Linked DNA regions of Homo sapiens: regions 2, 3 and 4 are each linked to region 1. The links are contacts of gene promoters, found by promoter capture Hi-C in blood cells and fetal thymus (Javierre and others, 2016). All regions are on one chromosome and are shown on one strand. Each heading gives the region's core, a stretch centred on a gene start or on the middle of the fragment in contact. The rest is flanking DNA. Distances are from core to core; before and after follow the strand shown. Region 1 holds the start of SLC22A5 (solute carrier family 22 member 5). Region 2 holds the start of CCNI2 (cyclin I family member 2). Region 3 holds the start of IL4 (interleukin 4). Region 4 holds the start of TH2LCRR (T helper type 2 locus control region associated RNA).

The links. The method cuts DNA at HindIII sites, captures the fragments that hold promoters and counts their contacts. A CHiCAGO score of 5 or more calls a contact.
Region 2: the fragment with the promoter of CCNI2 here is called in contact with the fragment with the promoter of SLC22A5 in region 1 in 8 of 17 cell types (monocytes, naive CD8 T cells, activated CD4 T cells and 5 more); the score reaches 10.9 in monocytes.
Region 3: a contact is called between the fragment with the promoter of IL4 here and the fragment with the promoter of SLC22A5 in region 1, in 10 of 17 cell types (naive CD8 T cells, monocytes, total CD8 T cells and 7 more). The highest score is 7.6, in naive CD8 T cells.
Region 4: the fragment with the promoter of TH2LCRR here is called in contact with the fragment with the promoter of SLC22A5 in region 1 in 2 of 17 cell types (non-activated CD4 T cells and fetal thymus); the score reaches 6.1 in non-activated CD4 T cells.

Annotation. Positions count from the first base shown.
Region 1 is chr5:132,368,130-132,371,397 of GRCh38, forward strand. SLC22A5 (solute carrier family 22 member 5) reads left to right here and starts at 1,581. Exons shown (of 10, transcript NM_003060.4): 1 at 1,581-2,236. The coding sequence starts at 1,844. It overlaps MIR3936HG (MIR3936 host gene), which reads right to left and starts at 1,787. Exons shown (of 8, transcript NR_110997.1): 1 at 1,715-1,787. RefSeq lists a silencer at 1,464-1,783. The HindIII fragment of the contact is 8,292 bases long and covers 351-3,268 here.
Region 2 is chr5:132,745,712-132,748,979 of GRCh38, forward strand. It overlaps CCNI2 (cyclin I family member 2), which reads left to right and starts at 1,715. Exons shown (of 6, transcript NM_001039780.4): 1 at 1,715-2,213; 2 at 2,636-2,764. The coding sequence starts at 1,785. RefSeq lists an enhancer at 1,198-1,277 and silencers at 1,368-1,787, 1,798-1,867, 1,888-2,077. The HindIII fragment of the contact is 9,894 bases long and covers 1-3,245 here.
Region 3 is chr5:132,672,464-132,675,731 of GRCh38, forward strand. It overlaps IL4 (interleukin 4), which reads left to right and starts at 1,526. Exons shown (of 4, transcript NM_000589.4): 1 at 1,526-1,722; 2 at 1,996-2,043. The coding sequence starts at 1,588. The HindIII fragment of the contact is 7,466 bases long and covers 1-2,249 here.
Region 4 is chr5:132,654,534-132,657,801 of GRCh38, forward strand. TH2LCRR (T helper type 2 locus control region associated RNA) reads right to left here and starts at 1,621. Exons shown (of 3, transcript NR_132125.1): 1 at 1,518-1,621. It also overlaps a transcript of IL13 not described here. RefSeq lists silencers at 1,845-2,134, 2,195-2,284, 2,365-2,424. The HindIII fragment of the contact is 15,561 bases long and covers 1-2,280 here.

The sequences.
Region 1 (3,268 bases), core at 331-2,830:
ACTAAGCCACTACTATTTTAAAAAGGAATATCTTGCATTGTTAAGTTTAGCAGCCCAAATTCTTAAAGGCCTTAGGAATGGTGCTGTCCAATAAGATAACCAATAGCTACATGTGGCTACTGAGCACTTAAAAAATGAGTCTGGCCAGGCATAGTGGCTCACGTCTGTAATTCAGCATTTTGGGAGGCTGAGGTGGGAGGATTGCTTAAACCCAGGAGTCTGAGACCAGCCTGGGCAACACAGGGATGCCTTGTCTCTGTAAAATAAAAAAAATAAAAAAATTAGCTGGGCACGGTGGCATGTGCCTGTAGTCCTAGCTACTCAGCAGGCTGAGGCAGGAGGCCCACTTAAGCTTAGGAGTTCAGGGCTGCGGTGAGCTATGATTGTGCCACTGCACTCTAGCCTGGGTGACACAGTGGGACCGTGTCTCCAATAAATAAATGAATAAATAAATATTAAAAAATAAAAAGTGTGGCTAGTCCAAATTGAAATGTGCTGTAAAATACACACTGGATTCCTTTTTTTTTTTTTTTCAAATCCTGAGAACCTGTGAAACACACTGAATTCTTAAGATTTAGTATGAGGAGGGGAAAAAAAGATCAATGATTTACATATAACAATGTAAAATATCAATAATTTCTATATTGATTATATGATGAAATGATCATGTTCTGGATATACTTGATTAAATATACCATTAAAGTTAATTTCATCTTTTATTTTTACTTTTTAAATATGCAGCATTGCCCAATAAAATACAGGACAACCAGTTACATTTTTATTTTATATATTCCTGCTTGGGACATAATATTTAAAAATTATTCATTCTATATCTGAAATTCAAATTTAACTAGGAGTCCTATATTTTTATTTGCTAAATCTGGCAATTTTATTAATATGGCTACTAGAAAAGTTAACATAACAAATGTAGCTCCTTATCCTATGGAACATTGCTGCTTTAGAATCACCTCGCTGCTTTTTTTTTTTTTCCAGTTAGCTTCTGAATAAACTCTGCACGGAAATAACTAATCTGTGGGGAATATTTAACCCTAGGCTAGGATCGTTAATCGTGAAGTTAAATTTTTACATCTGCATGAACAAAATGGCTTGTTACAGACGAAAATGTGGAAAGGGCATCTGGACTAGAATGAAAAGTCATAGCTCCCAGCCTCTCTACTAGGGTAGTTAACAGTCCCAGGTTCAAAATAATCCCCGTCCCTCTTATAAGATTAGGCGGTGTCAAGAGCAACTATCTGTGAGACCCTGGGCCAGTGACTTTCTCCTTACCTCCGCCCCCAAGTAGGCCTTGCAAAAAGCTGGGAGGGGTGCGTTTTCAACACTGGAGCTTCGCGGCCGCTCTCCCACTCGCTCCCCGCCCGGCGCTAGAGGAGCGAGTTCGGACTCGGACCCCAAGGCCTCGAGTCCCGCTGCCTTCCTAAGCCGAGCCCGGGCTACCTCGGTCGTCCCCAGCAGGCTTGGCTGGCAGAGGCCGGGCCTCGCCAGGTCCCCAGGACAGGCCCCGCCCGGGCCTCAGGTGCACTCCCGGCCCGCCCCGCGCCCTCGCGTCCCGCCCCAGCTCCGCCTTCGCCGGCGCCGCTCTGCCTGCCAGCGGGGCGCGCCTTGCGGCCCAGGCCCGCAACCTTCCCTGGTCGTGCGCCCTATGTAAGGCCAGCCGCGGCAGGACCAAGGCGGCGGTGTCAGCTCGCGAGCCTACCCTCCGCGGACGGTCTTGGGTCGCCTGCTGCCTGGCTTGCCTGGTCGGCGGCGGGTGCCCCGCGCGCACGCGCAAAGCCCGCCGCGTTCCCCGACCCCAGGCCGCGCTCTGTGGGCCTCTGAGGGCGGCATGCGGGACTACGACGAGGTGACCGCCTTCCTGGGCGAGTGGGGGCCCTTCCAGCGCCTCATCTTCTTCCTGCTCAGCGCCAGCATCATCCCCAATGGCTTCACCGGCCTGTCCTCCGTGTTCCTGATAGCGACCCCGGAGCACCGCTGCCGGGTGCCGGACGCCGCGAACCTGAGCAGCGCCTGGCGCAACCACACTGTCCCACTGCGGCTGCGGGACGGCCGCGAGGTGCCCCACAGCTGCCGCCGCTACCGGCTCGCCACCATCGCCAACTTCTCGGCGCTTGGGCTGGAGCCGGGGCGCGACGTGGACCTGGGGCAGCTGGAGCAGGAGAGCTGTCTGGATGGCTGGGAGTTCAGTCAGGACGTCTACCTGTCCACCATTGTGACCGAGGTGGGTGCCGGCCCCTGCTGGGGCTGAGACCAGGGCTCGGAGGACCTGTCGCGGTCCTTGAACCCGAGCTCCTCTCTCCCAGATGCGCACTGGACGCTGTCACTCCCCCTCCCCCAACGGTCAACACCCTAGCGATGGAGACCCTCCAGCCAGGTGGCTTGGGAACGCTTCACGAGGTGACCTCCAGCCACAGTGTGCTCCTCCCTGCACAGGTGGTCAGTCTGGCCTCCCGTCCTGATGGCCACTTTGAAGAGGGTACCAGGAAGGTCCTGGCGGTCCCTGGGCGATGCTCTATGGCCCTGTGTGTCCAGGACTTACTCTAGTTGGGGTTGGGGGTGGTAAGTAGCAGAGCCAGGACTTGGGCCAGGGGCTATCCCGTTTTTCCTCTAGTCTCTTGATTTCTTTTTAGAAGAGAAGAAATACTTCTCTTTCCTGAACTTTTAAAAGTTAAATAAAGCATGTGTATACAACTGCCTCTTCCCTTTTTCCTCTAGTTACTCCTTCCCCTACCGTCCACAACCCAAAAACGACAATCTGGTCATGCCCTGTAAGTAATTGTTTGCCTTTTCCCATGGTCAGTTGTCAGTCTTTTTTTTTTTTGAGACAGAGTCTCCCTCTGTCACCAGGCTGGAGCGCAGTCGTGTGTTCTTGGCTCACTGCAACCTTCGCAGTCGTGCGTTCTTGGCTCACTGCAATCTTCGCCTTCCGGGCTCAAGTGATTCTCCTGCCTCAGTCTCCGAGTAGCTGTGAGCCACGACGCCCAGCTAATTTTTGTGTTTTTAGTAGAGACGGGGTTTCACCGTGTTGGCCAGGATGGTCTCGATCTCTTGACCTCGTGATCTGCCTGCTTCTGCCTCCAAAGCTGGGATTACAACCGTGAGCCACCACGCCAGGCCGTCAGTTGTCACTCTTTAAGATCCATTCATCTGAAGATGGGTTCAGGGTGACTTGTTGACCTGGAATATTTTCTCAGGTATTATGAGGCAAGGCTGTCGGCCAGATTTAGTTAAAGCATACAGCCTTAGGTCATAG
Region 2 (3,268 bases), core at 465-2,964, 380 kb after region 1:
CTGTGTTCATTTGCTTGGAATAATAGCTTCCAACTTCATCCATGTTTGCTACAAAGGACATGATTTCATTCTTTTTAATGACTACATAGTATTCCATATTGTATATGTACCACATTTTCTTTATCCAGTCGATCACTGAAGGGCACCTAGGTTGACTCCATGTCTTTGCTACTGTGACTAGTACTGTGATGAACATGCAAATGTATGTGTCTTTATGGTAGAACAATTTATTTTCCTTTTGCGTATATACCCAGTAAAGGGACTGCTGGGTTGAATAGTACTGTTTTAAGTTGTTTGAGAAATCTCTAAACTGCTTTCAACAGTGACTGAACTAATTTACATTACCACCAGCAGTGTATAAGCATTCCCTTTTCCCTGCAGCCTCACCAGCGTCTGTTGGTTTTTGACTTTTTAATAGTAGCCATTCTGATTGGTGTGAGATGCATTACTCTGATGATTAGTGATGTGGAGCATTTTTTCATGTTTGTTGACCACTTGTATATCTCCCTTTGAGAAGTCTATTCATGTCTTTTTGCCTGTTTTTTGATGGGGTTGTTTTTTGCTTGTTTAATTAAATTCCTTACAGATTCTGGATATTAAGACCTTTGTCGAATGCTTACTTTGCTAATACTTTTCTCCCACTCTATAGGTTGTCTGCTGACTCTGTTGATAGTTTCTTTTGATTTTCTACGGTTTAAATAGGAATGTCTAGGTGTAGTTCTTGGCATTTATCTTGCTTAATGTTCTCAGAGCTTCCTAGAATTGTGGTTTGGTGTTTGGCATTAATTTGGAAATATTCATTCTCAGTCGTTATTGTTTCAAATATTTCTTCTGTTCCTCTCTTTCTTGTCCTTCTGGTATTCCCATATATTTTTAATATACATTTAATGTAATGAATTTTTTAAACAAAATATAACTTAGGAGCCAGGTGTGGTGGTGTGCACCTGTAAGTCTCAGCTACTTGAGAAGCTGAGGTTGAGGGTAGCTTGAGTCCAGGAGTTTGAGGTTGTAGTGTGCTGCGATCACACCTGAGAATAGCCACTGCACTCCAGCTTGGGCAACATAGCAAGATCCACCCCTAAAATTTATGTATGTATGTGTATACATATATATGATTTGTATGATTTTCCTTATTATACGTTTATAGCTATATATGTATGTATAGATACATAAACATATATGTATATGAATGAATCACCTTGTGAGGGAGGTATTATCACTTTTTTTTTCGGAGAAGAGGTAGCCAAGGCTCTGAGAGGTCACGACACATGCATGAGATCACACAGCGCGTCTGGAATTCCATTTCAAGCCTGTCTGAGGAGGGCGCTCTCGCTGCTTCTTTACCTGGTCTTGTGTCCCCAAGTGTGTAATGTGAGGTAAGACCCAGGGTCTGTGTCCGGGAGTCCTGGCCCAAGGCGGGCGCAGTCTCCAGCCGCCCCACCCCTGGCTGGGGGCTCTGCTCAGGGAGCACGGCCGGCAGGGGGGAGGAGGCGTGCGCTAGGCAGCAGCGGGGATGGAGGGAAGGGAGGGGGTCCGCCACCCGCCTGTGCGCGCCCAGTCCTGCCGCATCCTGGGTGCGCGCCGCCCACCCGCGGGGCGAGTGCCCAGGAGGCGAGGCGCGGCCCGGTGCGCCAGAGGTAGCTCCACCGCGAGCGTTGTGGGTGGGGCCCGCCGAGCCCGCCTCCCCACCTCCCCCGGCGGCGCCCCAGGCTGCAGTGTTCCGGGAGCTGGGTTATAAAATGCCGGGTTAAGCGGCAACTCAGACTCAGGATCCCGCTCACGACATGGCCTCGGGCGCTCAGCTCCCGCCGCAGCCGTCGAGCTCAGAGGTCAGCGCCGTCCAGAGCCCAGGCGGGCGTCCCGGCGCCGGTCTGGAGGAAACAGCCCTGGGCGTTCCTCTCCCGCCGTCTCCGGGGGAGGCCCCTCTGCCCCGAAGCAACCGGAGCAGGTGCCCTGGGACCCGCCAGCCCGGAGCGGCCTCCCTCCACGCGGCGTCCGCAGCAGTCCCCGTGCGGCCCCGGCGCGGTACGGCGCCAGCCGGGAAAACCGCAGACGCGGTCCCCGCCGCCGCCCCAGAGCAAGCTCCGCGGCCGGCTCCACAGTCCCGCAAGCCGCGCAACCTGGAAGGCGACCTGGACGAGCGCCGGCTGCTCTGCCACTTGCAGCTGGCCCAGGACCGCGAGGCGCGCCTGTGGCGGGGCGGCAAACCCCAGGTACCCGTCGCTGCCGCGTGGCCCTCCTCGCGCGTGCACGGCAGGCGGATGTGGCCTCCACCTGCACCCGCGCTCGGGTGTTCTGAAACTGGAGGCCGGGCCCTTCCCCAGGTGTGGCCCCTCACGAGAGGCACGAGGCTGGATCCACCAGCTTCTCTCTAGGAGGGCGTCTTGCTAGCAGGGCCTTCGGAAGAGGGCCTGTTTGAATCAAGGAACTCAGCCTACGACGAAAAGTGGGCGCGAGGGGTGGGGGTGATGGGTGAGCCGCTGCGCCGGGGGGCGCTTACTCCCAGCGGGCATGCAGAGGAAGGGACTTCTCACTGCCCCACCCCCCGCACCTTAAGCAGGAGGCTCCTGCTGCTGGGGGACCAGGAGTGGCCGCTAGCGACCTTCCTCGCCCCACCTGCTCTTCTTCCTAGCAGGATGAAATCTGCGACGCCTTCGAGGAAGTCGTGCTGTGGCTCCTGCGGCTTCAGAACACCTTTTACTTCTCCCAGTCCACTTTTAACCTGGCCCTCACCATCTTTGGCCGCCTCCTGATTTCAGTGAAGGTAGGGAGGCCTCTGAGGGACGGTGGCAGATGGTGAGAGAAGAAACTAACCTTTGCTCCCCATTCCTGCTTGAGAGGTGAGGGTTTCCAGATGCTCAAAACCAAGGTGTATAAACTAACTTGCTCCGAGTGGAAGAGCTGGTGTTGGAACCTCTCCACATCCTACACTGGCTGTCTCAGGGTCATGTAGTCATCAGGATTGGACTTGGGGAGCGTGAGAGGACCTAGCTGGGAAAGGGCTTCCTGTGTAATGAGGTAGGATGTGCTTGTCTCGACCTGTCGAGGGCAGCTTGAGGCTAGGATGAGACTGGGTTCCCTGAGAAGGTGCCATATTTCCCACCTCCAGTCAGTCCCGAAATGAAGGAATACTGCCCAGTCATCTGCAGTTCTGAAATCAGGAGCATCTTCGTTGGTCAGATCTAAAAACGGCACTAACATTCTGTCTTGTGGAGAAATTGAGCCTTTTAAAAATGGGAAAAAAAAGCTTATTAAAACAAACGGCTGG
Region 3 (3,268 bases), core at 276-2,775, 300 kb after region 1:
GGTGAAACCCCGTCTCTACTAAAAATACAAAAAATTAGCCGGGCGTGGTGGCAGGTGCCTGTAGTCCCAGCTACTCGGGGAGGCTGAGGCAGGAGAACGGCATGAACCCAGGAGGCGGAGCTTGCAGTGAACTAAGATCACGCCACTGCACTCCAGCCTGGGTGACAGAGCAAGATTCCATCTCAAAAAAAAAAAAAAAAAAAAGAAATTCATAGGGAAAAGAAGGTCAGAGACCAAGGGAAGGGAAGGTTCTGGGAGAAAAGCAGGGGGCAGGCAGGGCCCAAGAATCCTGCTGCCCATGAGCCCTTACTGGGAGGTGGGGTGGCCTTGCACAGGGCCCAGGCACCTGAGTGAGTGGTGGGGTCCTTACGTTCACTGCTGGGGTGAGGCAATGAGCACCTTATTGTGTCCACATGAATTCAATAAAAAACAAGCAGGGCGGGTGGTGGGGCACTGACTAGGAGGGCTGATTTGTAAGTTGGTAAGACTGTAGCTCTTTTTCCTAATTAGCTGAGGATGTGTTTAGGTTCCATTCAAAAAGTGGGCATTCCTGGCCAGGCATGGTGGCTCACACCTGTAATCTCAGAGCTTTGGGAGACTGAGGTAGGAGGATCACTTGAGCCCAGGAATTTGAGATGAGCCTAGGCAACATAGTGAGACTCTTATCTCTATCAAAAAATAAAAATAAAAATGAGCCAGGCATGGTGCGGTGGCACGCACCTACTGCTAGGGGGGCTGAGGTGGGAGGATCACTTGAGCCTGGGAGGTTGAGGCTGCAGTGATCCCTGATCACAACATTGCATTTCAGCCTGGGTGACAGAGTGAGACCCTGTCTCAGAAAAAAAAAAAAAAAAGTCATTCCTGAAACCTCAGAATAGACCTACCTTGCCAAGGGCTTCCTTATGGGTAAGGACCTTATGGACCTGCTGGGACCCAAACTAGGCCTCACCTGATACGACCTGTCCTTCTCAAAACACCTAAACTTGGGAGAACATTGTCCCCCAGTGCTGGGGTAGGAGAGTCTGCCTGTTATTCTGCCTCTATGCAGAGAAGGAGCCCCAGATCAGCTTTTCCATGACAGGACAGTTTCCAAGATGCCACCTGTACTTGGAAGAAGCCAGGTTAAAATACTTTTCAAGTAAAACTTTCTTGATATTACTCTATCTTTCCCCAGGAGGACTGCATTACAACAAATTCGGACACCTGTGGCCTCTCCCTTCTATGCAAAGCAAAAAGCCAGCAGCAGCCCCAAGCTGATAAGATTAATCTAAAGAGCAAATTATGGTGTAATTTCCTATGCTGAAACTTTGTAGTTAATTTTTTAAAAAGGTTTCATTTTCCTATTGGTCTGATTTCACAGGAACATTTTACCTGTTTGTGAGGCATTTTTTCTCCTGGAAGAGAGGTGCTGATTGGCCCCAAGTGACTGACAATCTGGTGTAACGAAAATTTCCAATGTAAACTCATTTTCCCTCGGTTTCAGCAATTTTAAATCTATATATAGAGATATCTTTGTCAGCATTGCATCGTTAGCTTCTCCTGATAAACTAATTGCCTCACATTGTCACTGCAAATCGACACCTATTAATGGGTCTCACCTCCCAACTGCTTCCCCCTCTGTTCTTCCTGCTAGCATGTGCCGGCAACTTTGTCCACGGACACAAGTGCGATATCACCTTACAGGAGATCATCAAAACTTTGAACAGCCTCACAGAGCAGAAGGTGAGTACCTATCTGGCACCATCTCTCCAGATGTTCTGGTGATGCTCTCAGTATTTCTAGGCATGAAAACGTTAACAGCTGCTAGAGAAGTTGGAACTGGTGGTTGGTGGCAGTCCAGGGCACACAGCGAGGCTTCTCCCCTGCCACTCTTTTTTCTGAGGGTTTGTAGGAAGTTTCCTCAGTTGGAGGGAGTGAGAGCTGCTCATCAAGGACTTCTCTGTCCGGTTGGAGGTTAACTCTGTCTCTTGCTCTCTCATTTCTGCCTGGACCAAGACTCTGTGCACCGAGTTGACCGTAACAGACATCTTTGCTGCCTCCAAGGTAAGAAGCCGTCCCACGGTCTGTTTTAGCAAATGGGGAGATCCATCCCCAAATGTCTGAACAAGAAACTTGTCTAATGGAAAACGAGCGGGCCCAAATTAACTCTAAGGTGTTAGATGTTTTCAAAGAACGAGAAGTCTGATCTTTACTCTTAAGCATGTTTTGGTCTTTCTGGTTTCACTTGATTTAGAAGACATGTAATAGAAAGCTTACATGCTGTAGTCCTGACTCAGATCCTGGTCAAAGAAAAGCCCTCTTGGGTTTTACTTAGCTTTGGCATAGTGCCTGGAACGTAGGAGGCACTCAATAAATGCCTGTTGAATGAGAGAATTTTTCTGGCCCATACATTTCTGAAAAACCAAATACTCTCACAGAAACAGATATTGAGATGACAGGTTGAGGGAGCTTTCATTTTGTCTAAGAGACTTCCTATGGCAACAGAAAAGGTATCGCCAGAGCCCCTCCTCTTCCACAGCCTGGCCACCTAACAGCCCTCTGGGTTCCGGGGCTGGCCGTCCAGAGCTCCTCAGCTTGCTCTGGCCGGCCGAACTCCCCTCCAGCTCGGTCTGGAACCATCCTGCTGGGCAGCGTCCAGCACATCCCTGCTTCGGGCTGCCTGGGCACCTCGCCTCTCTGCCTCCTGTGCTGCCTCACCCCCACCCCTCTATCTGTAGTGGGAGGAGATAGATTTGACAGCTGATAGTGCATTTTCTCTGACAAACACATGACTACAGCCGTATCAATAGTTTTGTGCATTTCAGTTCCTGTTTTCATGGAAACACACGGCTGAGAATGAAAGCCCCAAAGCCTCAATTTCACAGTGGTCTCCTAACTACCTGCTTTCCATGCAAACTAGGGAGATGATATGGCCAGGAGTGAAGCCCTGTGTGTTGGGCAGGGTCACACTCCAGCACCCAGACCATAGAACAGGGCCCATCCTGCTTCATGAGGGAAACTGCTCTTCGGGCCTTTAGCTGGACTATCTCATTTCATTAGTTATCCCGGGAGTCCGATACAGGATGAGATTCTGAAGGGCAAATACACACTTTTTTTTTTTTTTGAGATAGGGTCTTGTTCTGTCACCCAGGCTGGAGTGCAGTGGTGCGATTTCAGCTCATAGCAGCCTCCACCTCCCAGGCTCAAGCTATCTTCCTACCTCAGCCTCCCAAGTAGCCGGGACGACAGGTGTGCACCACCACGCCTGGCTAATTTTTGTATTTTTTTG
Region 4 (3,268 bases), core at 371-2,870, 290 kb after region 1:
CTGTTAGCGTGCATGTGCACATGCGCACACACACACAAAGAATCAAATACCCTCAGGAAGATAAAGCTATGAGAATATCCCAGAGAAGAGAAATTTTTTAAATGGAAAATAGAATAAAAAGAAAATTAAAGGACAAGTCCAAGAGGTATATAGTCAAAAAAAATGGCAGTTCCAATAAGAGAGAACAAAGAAGAAAAGTCATAAAATGTCCCAATCTAAGTGTGAATACAAAAATATATTATTTTTATAGTAAGTGAGAAAAACAGGGTGCAAAAGGTGTATATGATGCCACTTCACATGTAGGGACAAGGGAAAATAAGACCATATATTCACAGTTGCTTGTATTTACATAAACTAATAGGATACCAAAAAAAAAAAAAAACAACACCTAAGAAAAATAGTTACTTGTGAGGGAAGGTGGAGATTCCACTGAATTTTTTACATACACAGTTGACCCTTGAACAGCAGGTTCTGAACTGCACAGATCCACTTATCCACGGATTCTCTCCTGCCTCTGCCACCCCTGAGATGACAAGACCGACCCCTCCTCTTCTTCCTCCTCGGCCTGCTCAACGTGAAGACAGTGACGCTGAAGACCTTTGTGATGTTCCACCTCCACTTAATGAATAGGAAATATATTTTTTCCTCCTTCCTTGTGATTTTCTTAACAACCTTTTTTTTTTTTTTTTTTTTTTTTTAAGACGGAGTCTCACACTGTCGCCCAGGCTTAAGTGCAGTGGCGCGATTTCGGCTCACTGCAAGCTCCGCCTCCCGGGTTCACGCCATTCTCCTGCCTCAGCCTCCTGGGTAGCTGGGACTACAGGCGCCCACCACCACGCCCGGCTAATTTTTTTGTATTTTTAGTAGAGACGGGGTTTCACCGTGTTAGCCAGGATGGTCTCAATCTCCTGACCTCGTGATCCGCCCATCTCGGCCTCCCAAAGTGCTGGGATTACAGGCGTGAGCCACCGCGCCCGGCCTATAAACAACCTTTAAAAGACAGTAAGGGACACAGCAGGGCAGTAAGTGCCTCACTCACAAGAGGAGCAGCAATGCCAGAGGCCCATAGAGCACGGATTCCCAGCGCTGCCGTTTTACATAATCAGCCTTCTTGATTTTTAAAATTATCTGCATTCGTAACTTTCCTAAAAATAAAAATCTAAAAAATTAAATCCTTTCACTTACAAAAACAACTCTCTCAGGCCTTACTCCTCCTGACTGGGCATCATGTCTTTGCCAACGGAGACCCAGAGTCCAGAGAAACCCGAAAAAGCAACCCCAGCTTTCCCAGGATGAGCTGGTCGGGAGGAAGGGAGGTCCCAATCCCAGCGCTTCGGGGCCAGAGCAAAGCGAAGAGGCTCCCCATGGCCATAAGCGGGCGGCCCACGCAGCGCATTGCAGGCAGGTGCGAGCCACATGCGCCAAGTGCCCGGAGCGGCCCTTTGGTAGTTAGTGTTAATTAAAATTACCCGCACGGGAGTGGATCCCCGCTGACAATCTAGAAACAAGCAACAGACCCTCTGATGTAGCCATCTGTGCCGCGCCTCTCCGCACCGCCCGCCACGCCTTGGTCCCTGGAGACCACCCTCCAGGGCAGGGGCTGCCGCTCGGCCGGGCCCGCGGGGTCCCTCGGCCTGACATGGCCGGTGCTGGAGCGGCACGTGCGCGCCTCGGCCCCTCGGCCGCTCCCGCCCCTCGCCGGTGCGCACCGGCGCTCGGGGAGCCGCTGGCCCGGGTGTCCAGCCGGCCCTTGCCCTGCCTGGCGCTCGGACCGCCACCTTTGCCGCCCCCTCGCCAGCCTCCGCAGCTTCCAGACTGGCCGGTCTGCGCGCCCACCCCTGCCTCCCGGACCGGCCACCGCCGGAGGCCGCGGAGGAGGGCCCGGCCGCGCAGATCCCGCTTATCGGGCCCATCTCCCGTTACATAAGGCCACCCCCCTATCTCCGCGGGCCATCGCCGCCGCAACCGCCGCGCCAGCGCCTTCTCCCACGCGCGGGGGCGCCCCTGCCCACCGCTCCCGGCAGGGCTTTTGGTGGCCATGGGGGATAAGGGGCGTTGACTCACCCGGGCGGGGCTCCGGGAGTTGCACAGACCAAGGTAGTTCCCCGCTCCTTCCCCCATCACGGAGACCCTGTGGGAGATGCCGTGGGCCCTCTACTACAGATTAGGAAACAGGCCCGTAGAGGGGTCACACGGCCAAGTAGCGGCACTCCAGGCACTGGGGGCCCTCGAGGGGAAGGGGCAGACTTCTGGGAGTCAGAGCCAGCAGCTGGGCTGGGAAGCTTCGAGTGTGGACAGAGAGGGTGGGAATGACGTTCCCTGTGGGAAGAGAGGGTGGGCAAGCCTGGGATGCCTCTGAGCGGGAATCCAGCATGCCTTGTGAGGAGGGTCACAAGCACACCCTTGTGAGGAGGTTGAGCCCCATCGAGGACAGGACGGAGGGAGCCTGAGCAGGCAGAGAGGGGGCCTGGGGAGGCGCTGGTTCGGGGAGGAAGTGGGTAGGGGAGAAATCTTGACATCAACACCCAACAGGCAAATGCCGTGGCCTCTGCTGTGGGGGTTTCTGGAGGACTTCTAGGAAAACGAGGGAAGAGCAGGAAAAGGCGACATGGCTGCAGGGGCCAAGCCCAGGAGCCGCCCTCCACAGCACTCATTCTGCAGAAGGGAAATTTGAGGCCCCCAGACGGCAGGGGTTGATCCTGCAGAGACTGGTGAGCAAAGGGGATCACCCCAAGCCCCAGTGGCACTAGGAACACTTACAATCTCTGACCTGGACTAAGGCTGCCAGCCTGGCCCAGTTAAGAGTTTCCCAGAAGGATGGCCCATACACTTTAAATTAAAGGGGCCAGACACGTGCACACTACTTCCAGCCACTCTGGAAGCTGAGGTGGGGGGATCGCTTGAGTCTGGGAGTTGGAGGCCAGCCTAGGCAGGCAACATAGTGAGACCCCATCTCCAAAAAAACAAAACAAAACAAAACAAAAAAACACCAAAAAAGCTCCCAGAAAGACCTCTGAATCTTTCTGGATCTCTCAGTGGAGACCTGGAAATCTGAACTTTGACAATCCCTCTCACAGTGGGGCCAAGGAGGAATTAGGCAAGCCAAAAGAAGTGAACTTTACTCTTCTATTGCCTGTTTGAATTTTGTATCCAAGCAAGTGTTACTTAAGTAATTTAAGAGACTGGTTCATCGAAAAAATAAAACTCCCCAAATTCCCATAGCTGGTAGACTGTGGTCACAGCCACAGTGCACTAAGACTATCTGCTC